Linked DNA regions of Homo sapiens: regions 1, 2, 3, 4, 6 and 7 are each linked to region 5. The links are contacts of gene promoters, found by promoter capture Hi-C in blood cells and fetal thymus (Javierre and others, 2016). All regions are on one chromosome and are shown on one strand. Each heading gives the region's core, a stretch centred on a gene start or on the middle of the fragment in contact. The rest is flanking DNA. Distances are from core to core; before and after follow the strand shown.

Region 1 (4,164 bases), core at 679-3,178, 670 kb before region 5:
CTAATCTTCAAGGATTTATTTCTTGAGTTATAATTACCAGAGAATTTACTAATAAACAGTCAATTCCCTGCGCACTTAAAAAATAATTCAGTTTACAAAATTTTAATCTATACCCAACTTTCCAGTAATGAAACCCATGTATAAGTGATTACTGCTGTATGTTAAGTATAATTAAATGACTAGTATTTCATCTCAGAAGGACATAAACTTCTTACCTTTTTGCCAGATAGCAAATCTTCTCCAAGTAAATCATCTTCAAGTTCACTTGGGAGAAAAAAAAGAGACATGTCAATGATTATTCCCATAAGACTTGCAAGTTTGTAGATCACTTGGAAATTTACCAAGAACTCTACAGCTCAGGTACCTTTTTTTTTTTTTTTTTTTTTGAGACAAAGCCTCACCGTGTTGCCCAGGATGGAGTACAATGGTGCAATCTCAGCTGACTGCAACCTCTGCCTCCCAGGCTCAAGCAATTCTCCTGCCTCAGCCTCCCAAGTAGCTGGGATTACATTATGCCCGGCTAATTTTGTGTATCTTTAGTAGAGACGGGATTTCACCATGTTGGCCAGGCTGGTCTCGAACTCCTGACCTCATGATCCGCCTGCCTTGGCCTCCCAAAGTGTTGGGATTACAGGCATGAGCCACCATGCCCGGCCAGCTTGGATACTTTTACATTAAGTTTGCTATGCTTTCCTCTTTCTTTATTAATAATAAAAATGTATTTTCAAATGCACAGAGAACATTTTATCTTTTTAAGTATGGGGAGGCTTTGCTATAGGTAGTGCCTCACTATACTTCTAATCTTAGTTTTGTACCTTAATATGGGATCTTAATCTCTTTGGGTCTGTTGAATAATCAGTAAAAGCAGAAACTGTAATATAGTAAGTCATATCTAAGCTTTCTCCTATCTTTAAAAACCTTAATGAAGAAGGAAAAGATGCACAATATAATTGATTAGGAAGATAAAAACCAAAACCACTAGAGACCGTTTGACATTCATCAAACCAAAAGAAACTGAAAAAAAAAATAAATTTTAAAAACGAACGAGAACATAAAATCAAATCACAGTAACTAAGGGAAATTAGCTTTGTATAACATGGATGTCGTATCAGTGATTTGCAATTTTTTCTAGCATATTTCTGTTTTAAATGATTAGAAGCCGGCTTTCTCCCTATTTTTACAACTAAAACAGAAACCCTTAGCAAATAAAAAAGCTGAAGACATTTTCCACTGCATTTATTAGAAACAAGATTTTTTTAGTTGATAAAAATGGCTACCACTAGATCATGTTTTTAATTCTGGGGAAATCAATCTCTTGGAAGCAAATATCATTAAAAGTCAACATACAGAAATATACAAAGAGGAAATACAATTAGATGGACTGTAACTCTAGGTGCCAATACTCATGGAGATTTAACTGCATCGATATTGTTATTAGAATTGCTGCTTTATTTTTAATAGGTGCTCTGGTTACAAAATTCTATAGGTATTGAGAAATCAGCAAAACCATTATTTTACCAAAAAATCATGTTTATTTTTAGCATGCCACTTTGCAGAATACTATAATCTCCGGGAATGCATATATGGAGTTATAATGAAATGCATGTTTCTATATAACGCCTTTTAGAACTAAAAACAACCTGACAAATCATTTAATTCATGCACTAAAGACTTTATTCGTTATTTTAAGTTATCCTCCAGTAAGTCCTATATTACATTTTACAGATAAAGAAAACAAGGATAGGACATGAAATAACTTGCCTAAAGTCACACAGCAGTGACAGATGCAGGACAAGAACTTAACAGCCCTTGAAAAACAATCTTTCACAAACTCCTATAGGATAGTTATAAGAGAATAACATATAGCTTCTTCCAACATTTTAAAACCACTATCATCTATCAAATACAATTTTTGTATCTTCAGTGTTCCAACTACCCTCCAGAGGCAGGGAGAAAACAATGCTGTCTAGTCAACAATATTTACAATAACCCCATTTGAAAATTTGATTCCAGATAACCAAAAACACACAAGCACCTCTTTTAAAGACAGGCACTCGTCTATACCATCACCTTAAGTAACTAAAAATGGAATGTGATGCCAGTTTCCCAGGGCAAACTGACAAAGTCATAAAAACAGGCATTAGTAATTATACAAGCAAAAATCTAGAAAGTATCTGTGCCTCTTGCTGACAAGTACATGGAAATAAATCAACCTTTAATAACTACTTATTTTTTCTCAACGAAAACATTTTTAAAAAGATAAGTAAGTGTATCAACTATAAAATGAGTAGAGAAAATGAAGACTAGTACTTGTTTCATGACTAATGAGAAACAGGATGGGGGACAGTGGGATTCAGTACAGAACAACAGCAAGTATAAACAGCAGCCCCAGCGATCCACAGCATCCGCTCAATGCACTTCTGTGCCAGGCACCACTTGACATGTTCCACACACACGAGCTTTTCATTGACATAATACCCCTCTCAGGTAGACACACCGTTGCCATTTTCAAAATGTGAAAACAGAGACACTAAGATGCTAATTTGCCCAAGGTCATCCAGCTAGGAAGTGGTGACACCAGTGAGAGAATCCAAGTCCTAACTACTATGCACACACCCCACAGAAACTACATGTACTTTTCTTCTTGTCATCGTAAAGCTGGACCCTCACAAAGGATGTACACATAAGGAATAAATTTATTACATATGTAAAACTACATCCACTCTTGGCAAAAACAACAATGAACTAATGGAAATGACTGGTCTCCATCTGGCAGTTTCAAAGGGGTGAGCAGTCACTCTGGCTGGCAGCAGCAGTAAGTGTTCTAGGAAATCAAACAAGCACTGGGCTGATGAAGAGGCTTCCTGTGTTCAATTCTAGAGTTCCCTAAAGATTCCACCAGTAATCACTACTTGAGTACGAACAATCTTTCTGGCAGGCATTTCTTATTAAAGCTTACAGACAATGAGCTCTTTGAAAGCAAGTATATTTTTACTTAGAAACAGAAGTTATCCTCAAAGACGTTTTTCAGGAAACAAGTATTTGTTGTCAGCCACTTGGCTACAGCCTTTCAAAACCAGAAGTGAACTTGACCACTGTAAGTGGGGCTGTAGTCTCTGGGTCCTCCCCACTCTAGTCCACTCTCCGTCTTACCTGCCTGCTCTGTGGCTGGATTGCGTCCTCCAGGAGCAGCTGGCACAGCCGGTCCTAACCTCTGGCTTCCAGATGGATTCGCCCATTGGGACGCACCAACATAACGTCACCAAGTAGGAGGAGAAAGACCGGCCCCTCCCCTCTCACCTGAAGAAATAGAGACTACAGTATCCCTCCCCCAACAGCCTTCACTGGGCCCTAGGACACCACTTCCCACAAGGCCGGGGCAGGAACTGGTACTCCCTGGATGGGAATGAACTCATTAGTTCTTTAACCCTGGCCTGTAAATAGACCCGTCATTAAATTTCTTCAGTTAAAACTTTTTGGGCCAGGCATGATGATTCACACCGTAATCTCAACACTTTGGGAAGCTGAGGTGGTTGGATCACCTGAGACCAGGAGTTCAAGACCAGCCTGGCCAACACGGCGAAACCCCTTCTCTACTAAAAATATAAATATTAGCCAGGCACGGTGGCACATGCCTGTAATCCCGGCTACTCGGGAGACTGAGGCATGAGAATCGCTTGAACCTGGGAGGTAGAGGTTGCAGTGAGCTGATATCGCACCACTGCACTCCAGAGCAGACTCTGTCTCAAAAAAACAAAAACAAAAACAAACAAAAACTTTTTGAGTGGGTATCTCTTTCTTGCCTGGACACATGAGACATTCATATCTTTAAAAAAAATAAATAAAACACAATTTCAGGTGTTGGTTCAGCAATGACATCATATTCTTCCAAACACCACTACCAGTACAGCATGGCAGAAGAACTTACCATAGTAATTCCTGACCCACTCTTCTCACCTTCCAAGTGTCTCTCTCTGTGTCATGCAGCACACAGAGAGGCTGTCTTATGCTTAAAACATCAAAAAAGAAATACATGTGGCAAAAGCTTCATAGATGCAAACACGTCACTGAAGACAGTAAAAAAAAGAGCTCGTTCACAAACAATATGAAACAACTGCAATTCATAATACGGTAAACAATAAAACCTAGAACCGTCTCACACCA
Region 2 (3,699 bases), core at 967-3,466, 690 kb before region 5:
CAAAATTAAAATTTTCTGCTCATGAAAAGACATATTTAAGAAAATGAGGCCAGGCATGGTAGCTCACGCCTATAATCCCGGCACTTTGGGAGGCCAAGGCGGGCAGATCACTTGAGGTCAGGAGTTCAAGACCAGCTTGGCCAACGTGGTGAAACCCTGTCTCTACCAAAAATATAAAAAATTAGCCAGGTGTGGTGGTACGTGCCTGTAATCCCAGCTACTCAGGAGGCTGAGGCAGGAGAATCACATGAACCCAGGAGGCAGAGGGTGCAGTGAGCCGAGATCATGCCACTGCACTCCAGCCTGGGCGCCAGAGTGAGACTCTGTCTCAAAGAAAAAAAGAAAATGAAAACACAAGCCACAAACTCAGAGAAAATATTTATAATACGAATATGTAATATGTAATTATCTGCCAATGGAATGATACCCAGAATATACAGACAACTATCTCTACCTAGAATATATGCAGTATGTATGCATACATATTCTCCATAGAGATGATACATGTAGAAAATACATGTATAGACAGCATATCCTATGAAAAATATATAGGATATATATAGCATATATAGAAACAAATAAAAAGACAACCCACTTTTTTTTGAGTGAGAGACTAAAACTAGAAGCAAAGAAGATATACGGAAGTCCAATCGCACATGGAATGGTGCTCAACATCACTAGAGGTCAGACAAATGGAAACTAAAACCACGATGACACACTCACTAGAAGGATTAAATCAAGAGATTGGCAACATTAAATGATGAGGAACAATGAGGTACTCCCCCACAGTACCGGTGGGAGTGCCAAATGGTACAGCCACTTTGGAAAACCAATAGTGGTTTGTTATAAAAGTAAACATACCTCTAGACCGTCTCAGCAATTCCACTACTTGTTAATAACCAAGAGAAACAAAAACATACATCCACAAAAAGATGGGTAATATGATCCTTTTAGTAGCTTTATTCATAATAACAAAAAAACTGGAAACAACCCAAATGTCTATCATTGGGAGAATGAACAAATGGGGTACATCCATAAAATGGAATAAATTATTAATACACACAACTACTTGGATGAATCTCAAAAACGTGCCGAGCAACAGAAGCAAGACACAGGAGCGCACACACACTATATGACTACATTTAGGTGATGTTCCAGACTAGGAAATGCCAATCTAGGTATAGAAATAAGAACGCTTTACTCTGAGGAGTCAGGACTGAACAGACAAAAACATTCTGTGTAATGGAACTGTTCCTTATCAACCAAGGGATGGTAACTTGGATGTATACATGTATCAAAACTTACTGTACACTTTACATCTATGCTTATCTCTAAGTGTAAACATTATCACCATTTCACAAGTATTTTAAGTGGTGCAAATATGTTTTTAAAGCTTCTCTCATTTCTTCCTCTACACATGCCAAAACTATGTGAAAATGGCAAGTCTTTTTAAATAACTATGTTAGAAGACAATAGCATAACTAGCACTAATGTGGCCGCATTAACTATAAAAGACTGATATTTAGTCTTTATAATTAGATCTAACTTGTTTCAAATATAATGATTTCTCTATATGAACCAAGGAAGAACATTAGTTAAATAAAAGGAGTCACCTAAAATAGGCTTTTCAATTAAAATTAATTAATTGCTTTTAAGTTCTATAATTAAGATTCTAATATAGACCTTAACAGAGCTCCTAGAATGAAGTCATCTGGAAAACCGCAACACCCTTTCTGCCAGTCTTAAGCAATGCAGACCAAAGCGTGCGGCAACACAGATGGGGCACAACAGGATGCTCGGCAACAATGCAGATATTTAGGAAAGGGAGTCCAGGAACTAGGAAGACACCAAAACAGACGGATATGTGGCACATTAAAAATGGTACTCCTCCCTGAGGACTACACAGTTTATTTAGACTTCTAAAAAAGATGGATCACAAGCCCTCCAAAACCAAATCCTACAAAAGTTGAAATACTAGCAACTTCTACTTCTCAGCACTTAAAACAGTATTATGCGCATGAGTTCCCAATAATTATCTCATTGACTAATATTCTACAATGCAGCCGGGAAAAAAAAAAGCCCCAAATATTTATTGCTAGTGGAAAAGACCAGCACATCACCAGCCTCCAGGAAGGACAACTGAAAGTCCTAAGATCAAGAGCATCACAAAGAACCTGCCATCATCACAAAAGCAAGCAACATAAACAAAGTAAACTAAAACCATCAAGGAAAGGATAAAAAAAGTAAATATACGAATACCTTTTAAAAATATTTTTCAACAGTAAATTTAAAATTAAATTATGAGATACACAGTTTAAAAGTAAAAAGTAAATAATACATCTAGCAGATGGTATAAAAAAGACAAAATACTTAATATGGATGAGCTCTTACTTTCTGCTAGAAAGATTCATACTGAAAACAACCCTTAGGAAGTTTCATGTGAGAGTGTTAACAGCAAAAAAAGAAAAAAAAAAAGAAAAAAAAATCACAAGAGTGAAACAGATGCAACTTCTAGCTCTTTGCCTTCCAAATTCAAGGGTCGGCGTTTAACCACCTTATGTTTCCCTGTCTTTTCATATTTAAAAAGGAAAAAGAATATTTCTCGCTTACAGTAAAAAAATTTTTAAATCAGAAAATATTGGAATACAAAGACTAAATAATTCCACCATTTAGTAGTAATCATTATTACCATTTCCATCTGTAACTACATAGACTTTTTGTTTTTTTTGAGAATTACACACACATATTTAGATTTGCAGTTACAGGGGGAGCTGAAGGGAAGAATTCTATCATCTTGCTCTTTACACTTAATGCATCACGAGCACCTTTCCAAGTCAAACAGAACTAAGACAACACTTGGTATACTGCATTACACTTTAAGGTTAGGCCATGATTTACTCTTTTATACATTGGTTCCATTTATTTTCAATGCTGCAAACAAATACTTGATACATATACCTTTGAACACAGATTAATTCTTTTGGATAAATTTGTTAAAGTGGAATTGTTGAGTCCAAGGACAGGAGCTTTAAAGCTTTTAATACTGTCAAGAACAGTGAAGAGTATAAGATTTTACTCTACTTGCAAGCTAACAAGTTAGTTGGCCACCATTTCACGGAAGCTGTAAGAAAGCTAAGACTCTTCGTCAGAAATAAGGAGACTAGGACAATGTTATCTGTATCACTAGCAGTAGCATTCTGCACCAGCTCCAAGAAGCCCCACTCCCAACTGGGCCGTGTGAAGAGAGCCAGGTGACCCTGCACACATAGGAGGTTGTGTTACAGGAAGGACTTCTCTGCACAGGAAACCCTGAATGTGTCACAATGGGGAGTAAGCAAACCTGTCCTTGACTCCAGAGGAAGACACTGCATCTGTAGCTGTCTGCTACACCAGAATCCTCTAAAAGATATTCCGGAACAAAGGACAGGCAGTGATTTGCTCGCTTTGCTCACAAAACCTGCAGCTAAATGAAGGACCCTCAGAAAACTGTCTCCTGACAATGTTACCAAAACGCTCCCTCAAGTGAATCAGACTACATCTGATCAATAATTCTGAGGTCTGTTAATATTAAAGTAGGTTAAAATTCTCCATTTTCTTTTAATTTTTACTGAATATATTTTCATACACCTATTGTTCATTTGCTTAATCAAGTCCTGAATTACTGTCCCACATTATTTGTCCTTCTTTTTCTCCCTCCTC
Region 3 (3,934 bases), core at 278-2,777, 600 kb before region 5:
CTCGGTCAATAGGGTGTCTGCCAGGTCTTTCCACTGGGAATTCCCTTTTCCCTGTGTAATATGTATCTACGTATGGAGAGATACTTCGAGGCTGTGTGAATATGCTGTTCCTAATCAAACTTCCCCCACAAGCTTAGCATCCATTGATGGTTCTTGCTGAATTATTATGATGATGGGTGCCAAATGATGACTGTACAACTTCATAATTCTGCATGTATTACTTGTGATGCTACTGCAAGGAAGAGCTTTCGCTATTTCCCATTTATTTAAGCATTCAATTCTTTCTTTATGCCAGATGGAATCCTGATTTTCCATTTTATTCTATGAATTATAATTCATTATAATCATTACTTATGATGTTCAAAATGTCACAGATTTGGCCATTGGAAAACCCTTCGAGTTTTAGAGAATCTGGTAAAAATGCTATTTCCCAAACGTACCTAGGCTGGTTCTTCTCTTGCTCACTCCCCTTCAGTGTGGCTATGTCATTTCTTTTTTTTTTTTTTTTTTGAGACGGAGTCTTGCTCTGTTGCCCAGCTGGAGTACAGTGGCGTGATCTCGGCTCATTGCAACCTCCGCCTCCTGGGTTCAAGTGACTCTCCTGCCTCAGCCTCCCGAGTAGCTGGGACTACAGGTGCATGCCACCATATCTGGCTAATTTTTGTATTTTTAGTAAAAAAGGGGTTTCACCATGTTGGCCAGGATGGTCTTGATCTCTTGACCTCATGACCTGCCTGCCTCGGCCTCCCAAAGTGCTGGGATCACAGGCGTGAGCCACTGCACCTGGCCTCTGGCATCTATTTCTTTTTTCTTTTTTTTTTTTTTGAGACGGAGTCTCCCTCTGTCTGTCACCCAGGCTGGAGTGCAGTGGCGCGATCTCAGCTCAGTGCAAGCTCCGCCTCCCGGGTTCACACCATTCTTCTGCCTCAGCCTCCCGAGTAGCTGGGACTACAGGTGCCCGCCACCACGCCCGGCTAATTTTTTGTATTTTTAGTAGAGACGGGGTTTCACTGTGTTAGCCAGGATGGTCTCGATCTCCTGACCTTGTGATCCACCTGCCTCGGCCTCTCAAAGTGCTGGAATCACAGGCATGAGCCACCGTGCCCAGCCTCTGGCATCTCTTTCTAATACAGTTGGGTCGGTTAGTTTCTGTTTGTATTCCACGTGGGTCCTTCCGGCTTATTTATTTATTTCATTTACCTGGAATGGTTAGCTTGGTTCTAAAAGTCGGAACTAAACAGCAGATGAACAGAGAGCACGGTATGTTTTCTTCTCCTTCTTACGTGAAAGCGACCTCATCCTGTAGAGACACCACAGTTTACTCAACTCCTGTCCTACATATGGCCGTTTCGATTATTCCCACAATATTCTGATGACGATCAGTGCCGCAGTGAGTAATCTCACGTGTATGTAGTTTCATGCTGTCGGAGGTATGTTTTTAGAGTGGGATCCTAGGAGTAGGTGACTCTAAATAAGTGCAGATCTCATTTTGTTAGGTGTTGCGAATTGCCTCCCAGAGCTGTGCCAGCTTTCACTCCCACCAGCAGTGTGGGAGGGTGCTGATTCCCCATGGCCTCATCAGAAGAAGGCGTTGCCAGCCAGGCGCAGTGGCTCACATCTGTAATCCCAGCACTTTGGGAGGCCAAGGCGGGCGGATCACTTGAGGTCAGGAGTTTGAGACCAGCCTGGCCAACATGGAGAAACCCTGTCTCTACTAAAAATACAAAAATTAGCCAGGCGTGGTGGTGTGCACCTGTAATCCCCACTACTTGGGAGGTTGAGGCAGGAAAATTGCTTGAACCCAGGAGGCAGAGGTTTCAGTGAACCGAGATTGTGCCACTGCACTCCAGCCTGGGTGACAAAAAAAAAGAAGAAGAAGAAGAAGAAGAGGAAGAAGGGATTTTCATACTGATTTTTGCTAATCTGATAGGCAAGAAATGCTATCTCCGTGTGGTTTCAATTTACATATTTCTAGTCGTGAGTGAGGTAGAACATTTTTTGTATGGCGAGGATCATTTTGACATCTCTTTTGTGAATTATCTGTTCATATATTTTCTAAATGTTTCTTTCTTTTTTTTTCTTGAGACAGTTTCACTCTTTTTGCCCAGGCCGGAGTGCAATGGCATGATCTCAGCTCACTGCAACCTCCACCTCCTGGGTTGAAGTGATTCTCCTGCCTCAGCCTCCCAAGTAGCTGGGATTACAGGCACCTACCACCACGCCTGGCTAAATTTTGTATTTTTAGTAGAGACAGGATTTCACCGTGTTGGCCAGGATGGTCTCCATCTCTTGACCTCGTGATCTGCCTGCCTCAGCCTTCCAAAGTACTGGGATTAAAGGCGTGAGCCACCGCACCTGGCCAATTTTTCTCTTTTTTTTTGGTTCTTTTCTTTCAATTTTAAAGACGTCTTTATAGATTGGAGACATGAGTCCTTCATCCGTGATATACGTTACAAATATTTTCTCCCAATTTATCAGGCTTTTTTGTTTCATTTATGATATTTTGCCACACAGCTTTATTTTATTTTTATGTAGTCAAATTTATTATTCTCTTTTAATTGCCTCTGGATTTGGGGTTATAGTTAGAAAGACTCAATGTGGAGGTTGAATAGGAATTTAACCATATTTTCTTCTAGTACTTTTATTATTTTATTTTTAAATATTTAGATCCCTGATCCACTGGGAGTTTATCTTTATGTTTGGTGTGACATATGGATTTAATTTTATCTTTTTCTCAAAGGCCACCAACTGTTCAGTCAATTGATTAAAACACTTGTCCCTACCCCAGTGGTGTGAGATGCCGCTTCTGCCGGACACTGATTTTCCACGTGTTTTGGTCATTTCAGGACCCTCTAGTCAATTCCTCTCTTCAGTTTGTCTATTCACGTATCAACACTGCACTGTTTTCTTTAAAGAAGCTTTATAGTATTGTTTCCATTCATTGTCACAAGTTTTTATTCTAACCTCTGAAATGGACATCAAAATTCTCTTGTGAATTAAGTGGGATCTTAAGTGAAAGCACTTGGCCTTTTGAAAGCTTTTAGAAAATAACAATTTCCCTTCCCTTATTGAACCTGACTACTTATTTTGATTGCACCCTGACTTCCAGGAATATTTACCGGAGAGCCATTGGTAAGTAAGTATAAATATTGGGTTTAACTTCCAAAGTCTGATATGGGGGAAAGGAAAAAGCTTAGACAGCTGGCCGGCCCATGTGGCCTGAGCTGCAATGCCAGGCTCTCTTTCTCCAGTAGCAGAGGCGGGTGCCATGGGGTGATTCCAGGGGCAGAGGCTGGTGCCAAGGGGTAATTCGAGGCTCCCAGGTCTCCAGAGGCCTCGGCTCAGAACTAGCTTGCTGTCCTGACCACCAGTCACAGAAACCAGCCACATTTAAGGGATGGGGAGCAGGGGCATGGATCCGAGAGAAGGGTGGAAAATTGAGCCTCCTTTTGGCGATGAATCTGGCGCACTCATATGAGTTTCCCTCCCCTGCAGTAACAAGTCACCACAGTGCACTGGCTTAAACAACACAGGCTCATTCCCTTACAGCTCTGGAGGCCAGAAGTCTACGGTGAAGGTGTTGGCAGGCCTTCCTGGAGGCTGCCTGCGCTCCTGAGGCCCCGAACCCCTCCTCGCATCACTCCACCCTCTCACCTCCATCCTCAGAGCTCCCAGCACTGACGCCTGCCCCTCTCCTAAAAGGTCCTCCGAGACCACCCGGGATGATCTGCCCATACCCAGATGCTTCATTCAGTCACGTTGCCACGTCCCTTCTGCCATGTAAGGTGACATATTCACAGGTTCTGGGGATTAGGAGGCGAACATCTTGGGCAGGGGCCAGGGCCCGCTATTCAGGCTACCTCAAAACATGAGAAATTAATTTTTCCTTTTTGTAGGTCCAAAGAGGCCAGATACAGCTCAGCCCGACACTGAC
Region 4 (4,095 bases), core at 79-2,578, 710 kb before region 5:
GAGTTTAAAAACTTTTGTCAGAAAGCTGACCTTGGAGTAGTTGCTAAATCACACGTGCGCTTTGGGGTGCAAGGCCTGCATTCTACACTTGCCAGGCTGTTGACTTTTGCAGGGGACACCATTTTCATACATAGAGGATATCTTGGGGCTTCCTGACAGCTTTACCACCCTATATTTCTAAGACTATTTTAGTGAAGCTAAAGAAAATCTGTACGTATTACCAGCTGCCAGCTTTCCACGGCATTTTACAAGGAAATGCACAAGAATAACAGATGCTAGCATAAGCAAAATTATTCCAACAAATTAGACTGACAGCAGTTCCAAGTTCAGGACAACCACTATGGGGAAGATGCAAAGGATTACTTGAAAGAAAGCCACCCTTCCCCATTCAAGTATGCGTGTGTTCATGTCTCCATTCATTCAACGGCTACTGCAGGAGACGTAGGCACCACACCAATCAGCGACGCTCAGGGCCACCTAAGAGGATGTGTGGATGAGCGATGCTAACCAGGGTGGGAAAAACTTTGGGGGAACACAGGGACATGCGATGGGGTCAGGAGGGGTTAGGAGTTAATTGTACTTTAAAACCTTATGCTTCTCTGCCATGCCCAGTGGCCTGGTGGTGACCCGCAGACACTGTCAAGAGGCGCCCCCCTCCCTTACACTCTGGGCCAGCCCGTCACCATCACAGTCCCCTGCTCCATGGCCACAGGACAACTTCATAATACTTCTCACCCACGTATGGGAGGGTCCCAGGATCTAGGCCACTGGCCAATCCCCTGCACTTGAACTACTACCTTAGGCTACTCTCCACTTCTGAAACTTCTCTCCCACACCCTTAGGAATCCCAAATTCCCCACCCATCAGCAGCATCCACCACACCCTTGAGTTCCTTCACCTTCTCGCTCTAATGGCCCCTCTGAGTGGCAGCTGTTCTCCCACAGCTTCTTGCCAAAGGTCTGGAGGTAGAAGGGCTCCTTCTTGATCTAACTGCTGCTTCCAGACCCAGCTTTCATCTCATGCCACCAGCTGACATGCCCCAGCACCACACTGGCCCTCTCATTTCTCAGGGAGTTCAGCTCCAGTCTGAATAAACACAAAGACGGCCCTTGCCGTGCCCTGCCTCAGATCCGTGCCACCTCTGCCTCCAGTCCTGGTGACCATTCCACCCTTCCATCTCACTCCCTCTAGGATCCTGATTCAAACAATCGTTCAACTCTACAAAGATCTCCAATGATCTCCTTTTCACCATCTCAGCCTCCTCCCTGGTGTCTTCTCCTCCCTGGCATCTACCTTATGATCCACAGCCCATCGTTATCAGCACTGCCTTCCCTTTACTACTTTGTGAAAACTATGACCCTCATAAACCCAACTGCCTGCCTATTCCACACCTAGTGTGCGCAGATGAGCGCAGCTGGACAGAGACACACAACCATGCTGACTGCCCTCACCTCAAATCCACACCCCTCAAGGGCTCAGCAGCCCCATCCATCCCTGCGCACATCCACTCTTCGAAAGCACGAACGGATGCTCCAAAGCGCCTCTCCTCAGACCTTCAACACGCCCTCCTACCTCCCCACTCTAGCTCCCTGCTACCCACCGAGGAAACTGAGGCCACCAAGGAAGAACTGACACAAGACTCCTCCACCTGCCCATCCATCTGCCCCAGCTGTGGAGGACTCCCTGCTCCTCCCCCTCAGCAAGCCCACCTCTGGCACGTGGTCCTGGACAAGACAAGTTTTTCCTCTCATCTGCATCAATGATGTTTTTCCTTCTTAACTAGCTCTTTTCTGTAAGTGCAATGAATAAAAAACTTAGAATAAAAAACTTTCTCTCAAGCCCACTTGGCTCCCATCAATTATCATCCAACTTCTGTTTTAGCAAAACACAGTCAAAGTCTGTCAATACAGTGGCCTCAAGTCCGTGCCCCATCTCAGCCAGGCCTGTGCCTCCTCCTCACCAGCCCCGCCCCAAGTGCAGGCCACACCCACTGACCCATTGGCAGCAGCCCTGCCAGCCCGTGGCCACCTGCTTCCTTCCCCATCGACCGTCATCCTCCTTCCTCCCTCTCGGCTCCTTTGCCAGGCTCTCCTCCTGCCCCCATTCCCACGTCGAGTGCCGGGGTCCCAGTCCTTGGCCTCCCTGACGGGTTCTCCTCCTGCCCCTCCCCCTCCTGTGTCAAGTGCCCTAGGTCCCAGTCCTTGGTCTCCCCACACACAGACTCCCTCCTCCAGGGCTCTCATTTGAGGGCAGGGTCTAAATCCACCTATTCACCAACAACCTCCTGACCTGTACTTTGAGCCCAAACCCCTATACTGAATTCTCATCCAACTGCCTACTAGACCCCTCCACTCACATGGCTAGTTGGCATCTCAAATTTAATGCACCCAAAACAGAACTTTTGATCTCCCCACCTCAGGTGATGGCAACCAGACCAGCCCTCTAAATGCTCTGGTCACCTGGGCATCACTCTTACCTCCTCTCTCCCTCTCACACTCATCCAATCCATCAGCAAATCCCATCGGCCCCATCTTCCTACTTCATCCAGCTCTGAGCTCTCTGCACTCTCCCTGCTACCACACTGGTTTGCACCAGGATCATCTGTCACCTCCTAGCTAGACACCAGCTTCCACCCTTGCCACCCGACAGTCTCCTCTCAACACGGCAGCAAGAGGAATCTTCTAAAACATACACAAGGTCACGTCATTCCTCTGCTCAAACCCCTCTAATCCCTGCCCATTTCACTCCCTGCCAAAGTCCTGAGAATGGCTGGATGGCCCCACGGCCCCACGGTACCCAGGTTCTGCATTTCTTCTCTGCTTTGATCACTCCACAAAAGTCACGCTGGTCTCCTTTTGGCTACTCAAACACACAAGGCAGGGTCTCTCCTGGAGGAAGCCCCCTTATACTTGCTGATCACTCTGCCTGCAATCTTCTTCCCTGAACAGCCACATTGCTAACTTACAGATATCCCTCAACTCTTTCCTGCTCAGTGAAGTTCACCCTGATCACCCCATTTAAGATACAACCCATCCCTTCCCCGCATCCTGCTCAATTTCTCACTGCATTTTCATCTTCTAACATGCCACATAAAATACTTATGTTTACTGCTAATAAACAATAATAAGACTGTCTGATAGAAAGTAATATCATGGTTGAAGAAAGCTTTGTCTGGTTTGTTCGTCAATATAACTCAAATGCCAAAAATAGAGTAGTAGCTCAATAAATGTGTGTGTTCACAGGTACATGAAGTTAAAGCTTCGTATAAACTGCTCAAAAACCGTTTCCTAGCTTAAGGAACATGTTTCAGTAATAATCAGATCTGTATTTATTTGATTACAACAACTAAAAGATGGTGTGTCCCCTCTCCACCAGCTGACACTGGAATTGAAGGGGGGCATGCTGCCTGGAACCAAAGAGGGACACTCACCACTGCAAACATCCTCACCGGGAGACTTACAAAGTGTCACAGTTCAGGCATTCCAATAGCGGTCTCTAGTGTATTCTTTGCATTCAGACTGTACTCTCAGCACTTTCCACTCAATTATACAATAAGAGATACACATTTTTAAAGAAATATACTTGACCCATCAAACTAAAATCTAAATGAATGGGGAAGAGCCAAGGAAAACTCAATCTTACAAATTTGAATGTGAAAACTATTTTGCCGCAGAGACGGCTTCAGTGCAATAAACTAATAAATGCCTTCAGATGCACAGTAATCTATAACATAACAGATGCTCCTCAACATAGGATGGGGTTACATCCCAATAAGGCTATCGTTAGTGGAAAAGACCCTTAGTCAAAATGCATTTAATATGCCCAACCAATGAAACATCATAGCTTAGCCTCACCTACCTTCAGCTCAGAACACTCACATCATTGCACAGTTGGCAAAATCATCGGGGCTGGGAACCGCAGCTCCCCCTGCCCAGCTTCGAGGGAGTTTTGGGATGCATGTTGCTACCCCAGGAGAGATCAAATCTCAACATTCGAACGATGATTTCTTCTGAACGCATACTGCTTTCACACACTCATGAAGTCAAAAACGCGTCAGTGGAAAAATCCTAAGTCAAACCATTGGAAGCTGGGGCC
Region 5 (4,208 bases), core at 1-2,500:
CCTGAACTCAGGCAATCCGCCCACCTCGGCCTCCTAAAGGATAGGATTACAGGCGTGAGCCACCGCGCCCGGCCCCTTCTCTTTTTTAAAACCAATTTCACTAACATTTACTTAAAAATGATTTTCTGCTTGGCAGAAGTGACTTAAGGCATGTGGGGGAGACACTGCGGGTCTGTCTCAGATTCCTTTAGACACCAATGCTCCACAGTTTTACGACTAGGTAATAGTCCGATAATCACCCATGAGTTCCTGGACTCCGGTTTGTTGTGGGATTGGAAATAAACGAGAAAGGCTGCGTTCATCATCATGGCCTTAATTTCTTCTCCCAACTTCCGGTCGTGCAGGTGTCTTGGGCAGGTGATCCCGAGGCCACTCTGCCGTGTTCTGTGAATCTTGGCGGAAGGGAGGCGAGCTGTAAATAAAAGCGTGACCATTAGAATCGCCGCTGTGTAGTATTAACCTGTTGAGCGCGGGGCTTCCCGGGGCTGGAGCTGCACCGCGGGCTCTGCTGTCTGGGACTCTCCTCCAGCGCGGACCCGACAGGACGCCAGGGACCAGGCCGGTCCGGCCGGGACAGCGGGGCCTCGGGCAGCGACGGGGCCGGGCCTCCCCCCAGCACGTCCCCAGCTCGGGCACTGAGGCCTTGCGGAGACCCCAGGACTCGCCGCGGAGGCCACCAGTGCGCGTCTCGCGTGGCGCTACGGCCTCGGGAATTCCGTCACGGCATAGCCGGGTCCAGCGCGGTGTAGACCGGGGCCCCGCGCCTTGCTCGGCCAGAGCGGCTCAGGTACTACTCCAGGTCCGGCCGCACTCGCGGCCACTGCGAACAGCCGGGACACCCAATCCCACTCCGCCCAGGGCCAAGAAGCCCGAGGAGGCCGCAGAACCGCTCCCGCTCCCACTCGCGGCCCCAAGGCCCCACCCCCCCCTCCGCCGCGCGCATGCGCCGCCCCCGAGCAGCCGCATGTGGCGACGGGAGGGGCCTGCCAGCTCCCCTCCTCCCCGGGACCGGCTCACTCCGGCCCCGCCGAGGGGGGAGCTGGTTTCCCCTCGTCCTCGGGGCCCCCTCGTTGCAGAGCGGCGGCCACGGAACCGCAAGGGCCAGAGCGGGCTGCCGGCGCCAGCTACCCCGGAGCCGTGGCTGGCGGCAGAGGCGCGGGGCGTCACTGGAGGCCGGGCGGCTCCTCGGCGCTCCCCCTCGGTGGCCGGGGCGGGATGGTGCGTCCCGCAGGGCGCGCGCGGCTCCCGCGCTTCGGGCGCTCGGCGCGGGCGCGGGCGGGGGCGCGGAGGGCGGGGGAGCGGACCCCGATTCGCAGGACCGGGCCCGGGCTGCGCGGGCAGGGCCGTTGGCGGGGCGAGTGGGGGCGCCGGGCGCCGCGGGGGCCGGGGGCGGGGGGTGGGCGGGGCCGGGCGCCGCCGCGGAGCCTCCCGGGCCGCCGCGATCATGTCGGACCAGGCGCCCAAAGTTCCTGAGGAGATGTTCAGGGAGGTCAAGTATTACGCGGTGGGCGACATCGACCCGCAGGTACCGCGCCCGCCCCTGCCGCGGCCTCCTCCCCCGTCCGCGTCCCCGTCCGTCCCCGTCCCCGTCCCCGTCCCCGCTCCTGCCGCGGGCGCGCGCCGGGCGCAGAGCGTCGGGTCCGCCGAGGCCGCTGGCCTGACTGCGCTGAGGGCAGGGGCGACCGCGGGGTGGGCGCGGGAGGCCCGGGCCCGGGGGAGTGCGGGAGGGAAGGCGGCTGGGGCTCTGTACCTCGGCCCCTAGTGCGCGCCCTGAGCCCCCGGCCTGCGGCCCTGGGGTCGCCGCCCCCGACCCACCGGGCCGCCTCGTTCTCTGCTCCTTTGCTGAGCGGGACGGGCGCGGGGTCGCGTCTCCCCATTCCCCGCGCCGGGCGTCTCGGCTCCCGGGAGAGCAGCTCCGAGGGCGGACGAGGGGCGCCGGGATCCCCAGCCGGGGCAGCTCGCGCGGGGACCCCAGCCTCGCTCGGCCGGCGGGGGTCGTGGCCGTGCACCGGCTTGGCCGCCTCCGCCACCCGGGCAGCTGCCGTCCTGTGCGGGGCTGAGGAGCGCTCCCTTCCAGCCTGTGTCCCTGCACGTGGGGGCTGGCATTCGTCTTCCTTGATTTTCCCACTTGGACGATTAATTTTACGGTACCCTGGTAACACCATCACATTACACATTTAATTTTGTGTAGTTTGGGCTCACGCCAAAGGATATTGTGGGTTTTCCTTAGTATTCCTATAATAATATATCTGTTTGATGTCACACAGTTATCAGTCCGTGGTAGGAATGCATCTTAGTTGAATATCCTCTTCAGGTTAATCTTCAAAATATTTCCTTCTTAAAAGTTTAGCTGTACAGTTGTGTTGCCTTGGGTGTGACATCAGTGGCCCCCACCTTGGAGGATGGGGATCCCCAGTGATCAGAGTTAGGCCTGGAAGGGCGGAGACTCATATTTCGCAGATGAACTTGGATGGTGTAGAAGGAATTGTAGAAGGCTGAGTGATCTTGGCCTTCTTGAGGTTCGTCCTTGTAACAACTTTTTGGACCCTTTTTGCCCTGTAACTTTAGGGTAAAGAGACTTCAAGGCCGGGTTTACCCCTGTAATCCCAGCACTTTGGGAGGCCAAGGCGGGTGGATCACCTGAGGTCATGAGTTCGAGACCAGCCTGGCCAACATGGTGAAGCCTCATCTCTACTAAAAATACAAAAATTAGCCGGGCGTGGTGGCGGGCGCCTGTGGTCTCAGCTACTCGGGAGGCTGAGGCAGGAGAATTGCTGGAACCTGGGAGGTGGAAGTTGCAGTGAGCCGAGATCGCGCCACTGCACTCCAGCCTGGGCAACAACAGCTAGACTCCGTCTCAAAAAAAAAAAAAAAGCCTTCTATCTTTGAATTTACAGAGTAAAACAGTTGCTGAACACGGAGCGATGAAGATGAGTGCCTGTAACAGTGTTAGCTTTTTCCAGTATTGATGATTCCCCCGCCCCTCTTTTTTTTGTTTGTTTTTTTGTTTTTGTTTTTTGCTATCCACCATTTTTCTCTTCCCCCTCCTTCCTAGCCTTCGTGTTTCATTTTAGGACTTTGGCTCTTATAGGGGACTTGAACCAAATGTTACTTAAAACCTGGAACAAGTTGAACTGGAACCATATTTACTCGACTTTGAATCAAATCTAAGTGCTTAAAAATGTCCTTGGCAAACCACTTTCATCTGAAACAGTATATTTTCTGAAAAGTTTTGAGCCTGGACATCTGATTCTCTGACTCTTATGACTGTGGATTATAAGTTCACATGTTGACCATCTAATATGAGGCAGGCATGGACTAGGTGCCAGGTATAATACAGAGGTGAAGAGGACATGGTACCTGCCCTTTAGCGCCCCTCATTGGTGGGGGAGGGAGCACACCTGGACATATCACAGTACAAGGTGTAGCAGATTTCTCCACTGGGGTGCAAAGTAGACACCACTGAAATGTCACTCAGTAGATGTCATTTCAGTTGGGTTTTGAGATAAGCAGAAGTTAAGAACATGAAGGAATATTTTCATGTGGAGCGTATGTGCTGAGGAATGAAGGCATTCATGCGTTTGGGATACATCAGGATGATCACTATATCTGGAACAGAGTGATATGAGATAAATCTATTAAGATACTCAGTAGTGTGGAGATTGAAGAGAAGCTATTGGTTTTGGCATCCTCAAAGTTCGTGAAAACCGAGTAAAGTGTTTTTGGTAGAGTGTTGGTGGAAGGGGCTGGATTGCAGGGAGTTGAAGAGTGAATGGAAACTGAGAACAGAAAGGTTAGACTCTTCAGGAAGTTTGTCCTGAGAAGGAAATAGAGAAGGTGCCTGAGGAAGAGAGGGCTGGGGAGGGATCTGTGTTGCATCACAAGCGCGTGGAAGGATGTGGGTGACTTTACTGTTTACAGGTGGAGGGAACATAGCTATGGACAGGGAAACTCATGAAGAAGGGAGTAGGATCAGAAACAGACTGGAGGATAGGAAAAGGAGGGGTGCCTTTTCTGAAGACCAGTCGAATGGATGCGTGAAGCTAAAAATGCTTAGAGGTCAAGGGAAGGAAGAAAGGTAAAGTGGCCCATGGCCAGTGACCGCTGTTTTTTCACTTACTAAATATTGAGCCTCTGCTCTAGTTCATATCTATTAGTGGTCGGTAAAGTATTCTGAAAAGGTTGTCTAGCTTGTGGGTGACTTTATT
Region 6 (3,870 bases), core at 1,194-3,693, 780 kb before region 5:
CCTGAAATGCCTGATGCAGCCCCAATGCGTGGCCGTCAGGGAGGCTGCCTGGGGTCCTCAGGCAATGTAATATCCCTCCACAAATGGGGGCTTCAAGACAAGGAATTCACTGCGAATTGCTTTCGTGTCTTCATAAAACTTTTTTTTTTCCCTTTTTTGAGGCAGGGACTCACTGTTGCCCAAGCTGGAGTGACGTGACAGGATCTCTGCTCACTGCAACCTCCGCCTCCCCAGCTCAAGCGATCCTCCCACCTCAGCCTTCCCAGTAGCTGGGATTACAGGTGCCTGCCACCACACCCGGCTAATTTTTAAAAAAATTTTCTTCTTATTTTTTTTTTTTTTTTTTAGCAGAGACAGGGTTTCTCCACATTGGATAAGCTGGTCTCAAACTCCTGACCTCAAGTGATGCGCCTGCCTCAGCCTCTCAAAGTGCTGGGATTACAGACGTGAACCACCGCGCGCGGCCTTGTGTTTCTTAATGTAGTATTTGGTTCACCAGTATTTTATTTAGGATTTTTTTGCATCAATATTCATAAACATTATCGGTTGGTCATCTTTTCTGTGCTATCTCTTCCAGGTATAGATATAAACGATATATTTGCTTCATTAAAAGGATGTGGAAATTTTCTCATTTTAAATGCTTTGGAACAATTTATGCAGCATAAGTTATATCTGGTCTCCAAACATTTAGTAGAATTCCTCTGTAACATGTGGGCCTTTCTGCATGCCTAGTTTTTTGATCATTTTATTTTTTTCTGTAGAGATTGACTGGTATGAGCTTTAGATCTCCACAGCAGTTGATACTGATACACTGTTTATCCTAAGAAATTGTCCATATCACATAGGTTTTTAAATTATCTGCAAAAAGATCTACAAAGTAGTCTTTTATTGCTTACAAAATCCCTTTTATGGGCAACGAACTTGAATAGGTGTTTCTCCACAGAAGATAAACAAATGACCCACAAGCATATGAGAAGATGTTCAACCTCACTAACCATTAGGGAAATGTAACTCCAAATCACAATGAGACACCCCCTCACACTCATTAGGGTGGCTATGACACACACAAAAACAAAGAAACATAAAATAGCACATGTTGGTGAAGATGTGGCGAAATGGAAGAAACCCTTGAGCACTGTTGGTGGGGATGTCAAATGTTGTGGCTGCGGTGGAAAAGAGGATGACAGTTTCTCAAAAATTAAACATAGAACTGCCATGCGACCCAGCATTTCCACGCCCCCATACAGACACAGAAGAATTGGAAGCAGGCTCTTAAAAAGACGTGTGCACACTCATGTTCGTAACAGCATTCGTCATCGTCAAGCATCCCGTGTCCACTGATGGATGAATGGGTAACAAATGCACTGTGTGTTTATAATGGAATATGACTCAGCCTTGAAAAGGAAGGGAATCCTGACACAGGCTGTCACATGATGGACCTTGAGGACATCGTGCCAAGTGAACCAGGCCAGTCACAAAAGGATAAGCACCATAGGATCCCAACCACATGAGGCACTTATTGTCGTCAAATTCAGAGGCAGAAAGTGGAGTGGGGGCGGGGGGTGCTGGGGGCTCAGGAAGGGGATGGGAGTTTGTGTTTCATGGGGACAGAGTGTCAGTTCTGTAAGAGGAAAAGGTTCTGGAGATGGATGGTTGGGACAGCTGTACAGCAGTGTGAACATATGTAATAAAACAGAACTGGACACTGACAGTTAAAATCATATATATTGATGTATAATTTTGATGCTACATGTTTTACATAATTTGATGTTACGTTCTACAATTTTAAAAAAGTCCTTTTTATCAATAGCAATTCTTGTGTTTCTTTTTATTTGTACATTCTTTTTTCTTAATTAGCTAGCGGTTTGTCTATTTCACTGATTTTTTTTTCTAAGGACTGGGATTTTAATCTATTAATTTTGTTAAATAAGTGTTTTCCCTTGATTAAAGACTAATGGGAGAGAAAATTTCAGGAAGCTTCACATGACATCATCTGAACGGCTGTCATCAGAGGCTCCCTGGCAAGGCTGGTGCCATCATCTCAGGGGCACGGCCATCCTGGGAAGCTGAGGCGAAGCCTGCCTTTGGTGACTGAGGTGCACATTGGCAATGTAAGGGCCAGGGAAGAAGCCGAAGCCAGGAGCAGCACTGGAAGGCACACGCCTGTCATCCCAGCCCTTTGGGAGGCCAAGGCAGGCGGATCGCTTGAGCTCAGGAGTTCAAGACCAGCCTGGGCAATGTGGTGAAACCCCATCTCTACAAAAAATACAAAAATTAGCCAGGTGTGGTGGTGCACGCCTGTAATCCTAGCTACTCGGGAGGCTGAGAGGGGAGGTTCTCTTGAGCCCAGGAGGTCAAGTCTGCAGTGAGTCAGGAATGCACCACTGCATTCCAGCCTGGGTGACAGAGAAAGAAAGACCCTGTCTCCAAAAAAATAAGGAGAACAAAACATGGTATCATTCTTCAGACACCATCCACAGATGCTCTCCCTTGATGGTGAGAAAAAATTCTCTCCATTGTCAATTTTAGAGAAAAAACACGACTAGCGTCTGAGATTGAAAACATCCAGGCTAGCTTTCGAAGCTGGGTGAAGAGCTTAGGTGCGGTTTTCATTACACCTCCTCAACAGCAGCTGTTGTTACTTGGAATCAGAGAAGTGCTCCTCTCCGTCTGGTCTGAAGGGCATCTGCCCAGTCCTCTAGTCACCTGCAGTGGGTCGGGAGGTAGGGCTTTCTTTCTGGAGGGGTTTCCTCAGTGTCCAGCTCTGCAGCCTGGTGCGACGACATGTCCAGAATGCCCCACTGACTTTCCTGTCTGGATCTACGTCGGACCCTAGAGAAGAGCCGCAAGGACCTCTGCCCTCTCGCTGCGGCCTGCAGGCAACACCAAAGGTCAGCAAGAAAGCTTCCTTTTTGAGCGTGAAGCTTCAAAACTGCCGTGCTTCTCATTTCTTTTAAGCACACAGCAACGAGCTGCACCTCAAGGTGTACAACACATGGCTCTGTGCTTCTGTTCCTAGAGCCACCAATTGTCAGTACTGTGTGTTTCCTACAGAACTCTTTTATCACTTACTTTTCCCTTCAGACGTGACTGTCACTCTTTCAAAACATGCAAATACATGTTCGAATAAGAAAAGGACCTGGCCGCACACGGTGGCTCACACCTGTAATCCAAGCACTTTGGGTGGCGAAGACAGGCAGATCATTTGGGGCCAGGAGTTCAAGACCAAACTGGACAACATGGTGAAACCCTGTCTCTACTAAAAATATTAAAAATTAGCTGAGCATGGTGGTGCACACCTGTGGTCCCAGCCACTGGGGAAGCTGAGGTGGGAGGATCAGCTGAGCGCAGGAAATCAGGGCTACATTGAGCTGTGATTGCACCACTGCACTCCCGGTGACACAGGCAGAAACCAAGGGTGAGATTTCAGGACTCAGCGGCCATGTTTCAACAGGAATGATCAGTGCCACACACCTGAACCACTTCCAAACCTCCTGTGTCTGGGACGGGGACACCCCTGGGCCTGCCACAAATACACTGCCTCACGTAATTGGTTGCACTAAATAAATACACACCAAGACCTCCAGCATGCCAGGCACTGCTCAGGGGGCAACTATGGGAAATAACAATACCTTCTTCAAAGGATCTACCACTCTTGAGTGTACCCTTAATTCAAAGAAAGCCCCATTTTCTCCCTGAAATGTCAAGGCGTTTTTTGCCCATGTTCTGTAGAGATCCCATTACCCAAAGTACAGGTTTTAAAAACAAGGAATGACTTATTCTTGAACTATGGATTAAAGAGGAAGAAAACTGCTTTGGGCTCTAATCACATGGCATTTTCAGATTATGACTTAGGCTTAAAAATTCAAT
Region 7 (3,762 bases), core at 230-2,729, 580 kb before region 5:
TCAGATGGAAGTAGATTTTCCTCCCTGTGTGCTTCTGATAACACAGGCTGGATGTGTTCTGGGGAAGGATGAACCAAATGCATACAGCTTTTCTTATGATGAGAGGAAACAGGGAAAAACATGCACGATGCAAATGCAATATTATTTATGATCCGTTGGAACATTATTTCCCTAGCGTGAGCCCTGTTAAACACAGCCTTACTGTGCCTCAGGCAACGAGGCACATATGGCTGTAAACTCCTATTACAACTGAGAGCAGAATTGAGGTCTGATCCGATCATCGCCCTGCTGCTGGGGAAGTTTAATGATAGCTAGAGATGCTTAGTGTCTAATTTGTTTTGTCAGAATTGTGGTTCCCAAGGTCACGAATGCTGCAGCATTGCAGCCTGCAGAATATGGCGTGTCACGTGGCATGACAGATCATGAGAGCAGCTATGTTCCATCTGAGAAAGACCGTCTTATGCCAAGCTTTGTTTTCAGTGGCTTTAGTTCAAGGACAGTTGGTGCAATAGCAGGGCTGGAAGTGGTCTTGTAGCTCACTGAGTAATATCCCCTCACTTGGTGGAAACGTGGAGTCCTGGGGTCGTTGTGACTTGCTCCACGTCAGTCCATTATTGATGTTTCAGAAACACTTTCTACTGGGTGTCCATTGTGTCCCAGACTGGAAGTTATGTCCAGTGCCAAGGTCCAGGGAGAGTGGTGCCCAGCCCAGCCCAGGGAGCCCCTCTCTGGAGGATTGGTGGGTTGGGGGTTCCGATGGAGGCTGGAGGTGCTGGAACCAGGCTCAGACTCACAAGGAGGGGCAGGATGGTGCTCTGGGAAGTCTTCCTGGAGGAGCTGATCTTGACTAAGTCTTGAAGGACTAGGAACCACTGGGAAGGGTGGCTCAGCCTTTCAGACCGAGGGGCAGCCTGTGCGCAGAGGTGCAGTGCATGTACAGAGCTCTCAGCAAGGTGCCCAGAGGATGGTGCTGCCGTGTCGCAGCCAGGGGCCCCTCGTGCAGGGCTTTTATGCCAATGCAGAGGATAACCCTTGGGGTCACTCTTCCACTGTCCTCATGGGTAGCATCCGGCTTCCTTCTCTCCATACGAATCTCCCTTATCCTTAAGGTAATGTGGGAACCCTTGGTGGAACTTGGTAGAACTTGGGCATTCGGGTCTTTGGGTCACAGTTGGGTTGGTTTTCAGCAGCATGACTGTGGAGAATGTTGTGGAGAGCCTGGAGTGGGGAGAGAAGCCTGGAAAAGAGGCCTGCAGTCATCCAGAAGAGGGAGGAGGATGGGGGTGAAGAGGAGGTGAGTTGGAAGCTATTGAGAGATTCAGTGGTTGAATGGAGGGGTCGGGGAGGGTGGTGGTCTATGGTAACTCCTGAAGCTCTCCCTGGTTGGAGGTCCATGCCCTCCCAGGCTGGGGCTGCACACTGCTGCTGGATCTACAGTACCGGAGTCTTGTGGGCACTCCTGCCCTCAGAACTCCACTGGACATTGCCCTAGTGGGAACTCTCTGAGGTGGCCCCACCTCTGTGTCAGTTCTCTCCGTGGGAGCTGGGGCTCTCCAGGCCATCCTGTGAAATCTGGATGGAGGGAACCATGTCACCACAGCTCCTATAGAGAGGGCACTGCATAGATACTGTCAGAGTTTACTGCTTGTGAGTTCCAGAGGGGTGGGCTGAGCTGCACCTGGGCCTGCTTGAGCCTAGGTGGGCTTGAGCCCAGGTGGGGTGGCCAAGGAGCACTGCATTGGAACATGGGCAGCAGAGCCTTGAAATCATTCTATCCCCAAGGCCCTAGCGCTCTGGACCTGTGACAGGCAGAGCAGCCCTGAGAAGCTCAGAAGTTCCTGGGGTCACTCTTCCACTGTCTTGATGAGCAGCATCCAGCTTCCTTTTCTCCATACCAATCTCCTTATCAGCGGTCGCTTGGCTACACCCTTGATTTTTCTCCTAAACATGCTTTTTTGCTCTGTATGTGGCCAGGCTGAAAATTTTCCAAATCTTTAGGTTCTCTTCCCTTTTGATTATAAATTTCATCTTTAATTCATTTCTCTCTTCTTTCATTTTACTATAAGCAGTCAAGAGAAGCCAGGCTGCACCCTCAACACTTTGCTTAGTTATTTCTTCTGCTGAATACCTTATTTCATTGTTCACAAATTCATCCTTCCACAAAGCACTAGGAATGAACACAATTCAGCCAAGTTCTTTGCCACTTCATAGCAAAGATGGCCTTTCCTCCAGTTTCCAATAACATGTTCCTCTCCTCCTTCTGAAACTGCATCAAAATGGCCTTTACTGCCCATATTTCTACCAACATTCTCATTCTGACCTCTTATCAATCTTGAGGAAGATTGAGGTTTTCTCAGAGGCTCTCTTCTTCTTCTGTGCCTATACCTGAATCATCCTTGCTGTTCTGTTCACAGCAATGTAGGCTTTTTCTAGCATGCACCTCCAAACTCTTCCAGCCTCTACCCATTACCTAGCTCCAAAGAAGCTTTCACATTTTTAGGTATTTGTTATAGCAACATCCCCACTACTGGTACCAATTTCTTTCTTAGTCTCTTCAGGCTGCTATAACAACATACCTTAGATTGGGTAACTTAAAAAAAATAGATATGTAATGCTAACCATTCTAGAGACTGGGAAGTCCAAGATCAAGAGCCACAAAGCTTCAGCATCTGGTGAGGGTCTGTTTCTCATAAAGAGCACCTTCGATGTGCTCTCACATGGTGGAAGGGGTGAATATGTTCTCTTGGGCCTCTTTATAAAAGAGGCACTCCTTATAAAGTGCCTCCTTATAAAGGGCACTGATTCCATTAGTGCTTTGACCTCATGAGTAATCACCTCCCAAAGGCCCTACTTCGTAATACCATAACATTTGGGCTTAAGTTTCACCATGTGGATTTTGGGGGGATACAGACATTCAGACCCTCATAGAAACCTTCCCTGTAGTGTAGCCTTTTCTACACCTGTCCTCTGCAGGTGCCCCTTTCCTGCCCTGTCCCTCCTTATGCCAAAAGGGGAAGATCACTCCTTCACCTTCTCAGTTGAATTCATTCTCCAGGGCTTTGCTATTCCATGGGCTCCCTCCAAGCCTGGCAGTCACCTGTGCAAATAGGGGGTGGTGAGACCTCCCCACACTCTTCTTGGCCGGCCCTGGCACCCAAGGACCCCCTCAGGAAAAGGGGCTCACTTCTTGTCTGCACAGGGAAAGCAACATGTAACAGAGGGGAGGCCGCAGCCTTTCTCTGCACTTGCACAGGTGTTGGCGTAGCTACTAGACATACAGGCCTTCACTCTTACACGCATTTATCTAAAGCGAGTGATTATTGTTGGTTACGCTCGGGGGTAAAAGGGCCACGTGATCCCTGCCCACGAGGTTTTCAATCTAAGTAAAAGAGACAAAACAATTCAATGAAAGAAAAATATATATCCCAGTAAACGAGCCGGTGCTTTAAACCTCAGAGGGGTGAGGTTATTGGCTTTTTCTCTTCTTATTCATTCTTTTTTGCCTGGAGGGGAAACTTTCAACACTACCTTGCCTCAAAAACTCCTTAAATGTGAGATGCCATGTTAATACAAATTTATGGTATCCATTATAAGATGGGATCTAGCAATTTCACATGGAAAAGGCTGCCCAGCATTGAGACTGGTTTGGCCTGAGAATCTGAGGCTCTGGCCACCCTGTCTTGATGGCTTTCAGGGGCCAGCTCTGAGGCTGCAGGTGGTTGTGGACTCTGGCCAGGTGCCACTGGCGTGTCCAGCACCCAC

The links. The method cuts DNA at HindIII sites, captures the fragments that hold promoters and counts their contacts. A CHiCAGO score of 5 or more calls a contact.
Region 1: a fragment that was not itself captured here is called in contact with the fragment with the promoter of PAXIP1 in region 5 in 6 of 17 cell types (naive CD4 T cells, neutrophils, non-activated CD4 T cells and 3 more); the score reaches 7.6 in naive CD4 T cells.
Region 2: a fragment that was not itself captured here is called in contact with the fragment with the promoter of PAXIP1 in region 5 in 4 of 17 cell types (neutrophils, fetal thymus, naive CD8 T cells and 1 more); the score reaches 6.9 in neutrophils.
Region 3: a contact is called between a fragment that was not itself captured here and the fragment with the promoter of PAXIP1 in region 5, in 2 of 17 cell types (neutrophils and naive B cells). The highest score is 6.2, in neutrophils.
Region 4: a contact is called between a fragment that was not itself captured here and the fragment with the promoter of PAXIP1 in region 5, in 4 of 17 cell types (fetal thymus, total CD4 T cells, total B cells and 1 more). The highest score is 7.5, in fetal thymus.
Region 6: a contact is called between a fragment that was not itself captured here and the fragment with the promoter of PAXIP1 in region 5, in 1 of 17 cell types (monocytes). The highest score is 5.4, in monocytes.
Region 7: a contact is called between a fragment that was not itself captured here and the fragment with the promoter of PAXIP1 in region 5, in 1 of 17 cell types (neutrophils). The highest score is 6.0, in neutrophils.

The regions. Positions count from the first base shown.
Region 1 is chr7:155,668,967-155,673,130 of GRCh38, reverse strand. It overlaps RBM33 (RNA binding motif protein 33), which reads right to left. Exons shown (of 18, transcript NM_053043.3): 3 at 216-264. Among named protein-coding and RNA genes, the nearest start is that of RBM33, 26 kb to the right of the region's middle. The HindIII fragment of the contact is 2,057 bases long and covers 900-2,956 here.
Region 2 is chr7:155,692,109-155,695,807 of GRCh38, reverse strand. All of the region lies in intron 5 of RBM33 (RNA binding motif protein 33), which reads right to left. Among named protein-coding and RNA genes, the nearest start is that of RBM33, 49 kb to the right of the region's middle. The HindIII fragment of the contact is 1,641 bases long and covers 1,396-3,036 here.
Region 3 is chr7:155,604,133-155,608,066 of GRCh38, reverse strand. No RefSeq gene overlaps it. Among named protein-coding and RNA genes, the nearest start is that of RBM33-DT, 38 kb to the left of the region's middle. The HindIII fragment of the contact is 2,786 bases long and covers 135-2,920 here.
Region 4 is chr7:155,711,491-155,715,585 of GRCh38, reverse strand. The region is part of intron 8 of RBM33 (RNA binding motif protein 33); the gene reads right to left. Among named protein-coding and RNA genes, the nearest start is that of RBM33, 69 kb to the right of the region's middle. The HindIII fragment of the contact is 3,679 bases long and covers 1-3,167 here.
Region 5 is chr7:155,000,166-155,004,373 of GRCh38, reverse strand. It overlaps PAXIP1 (PAX interacting protein 1), which reads left to right and starts at 1,250. Exons shown (of 21, transcript NM_007349.4): 1 at 1,250-1,525. The coding sequence starts at 1,445. It overlaps PAXIP1-DT (PAXIP1 divergent transcript), which reads right to left and starts at 941. Exons shown (of 1, transcript NR_028090.1): 1 at 1-941. RefSeq lists an enhancer at 1-355 and silencers at 600-679, 700-1,389, 1,420-1,789, 1,960-2,109. The HindIII fragment of the contact is 20,481 bases long and covers 1-4,208 here.
Region 6 is chr7:155,783,259-155,787,128 of GRCh38, reverse strand. No RefSeq gene overlaps it. Among named protein-coding and RNA genes, the nearest start is that of SHH, 27 kb to the left of the region's middle. RefSeq lists a silencer at 768-968. The HindIII fragment of the contact is 927 bases long and covers 1,980-2,906 here.
Region 7 is chr7:155,581,584-155,585,345 of GRCh38, reverse strand. No RefSeq gene overlaps it. Among named protein-coding and RNA genes, the nearest start is that of CNPY1, 37 kb to the right of the region's middle. The HindIII fragment of the contact is 2,017 bases long and covers 471-2,487 here.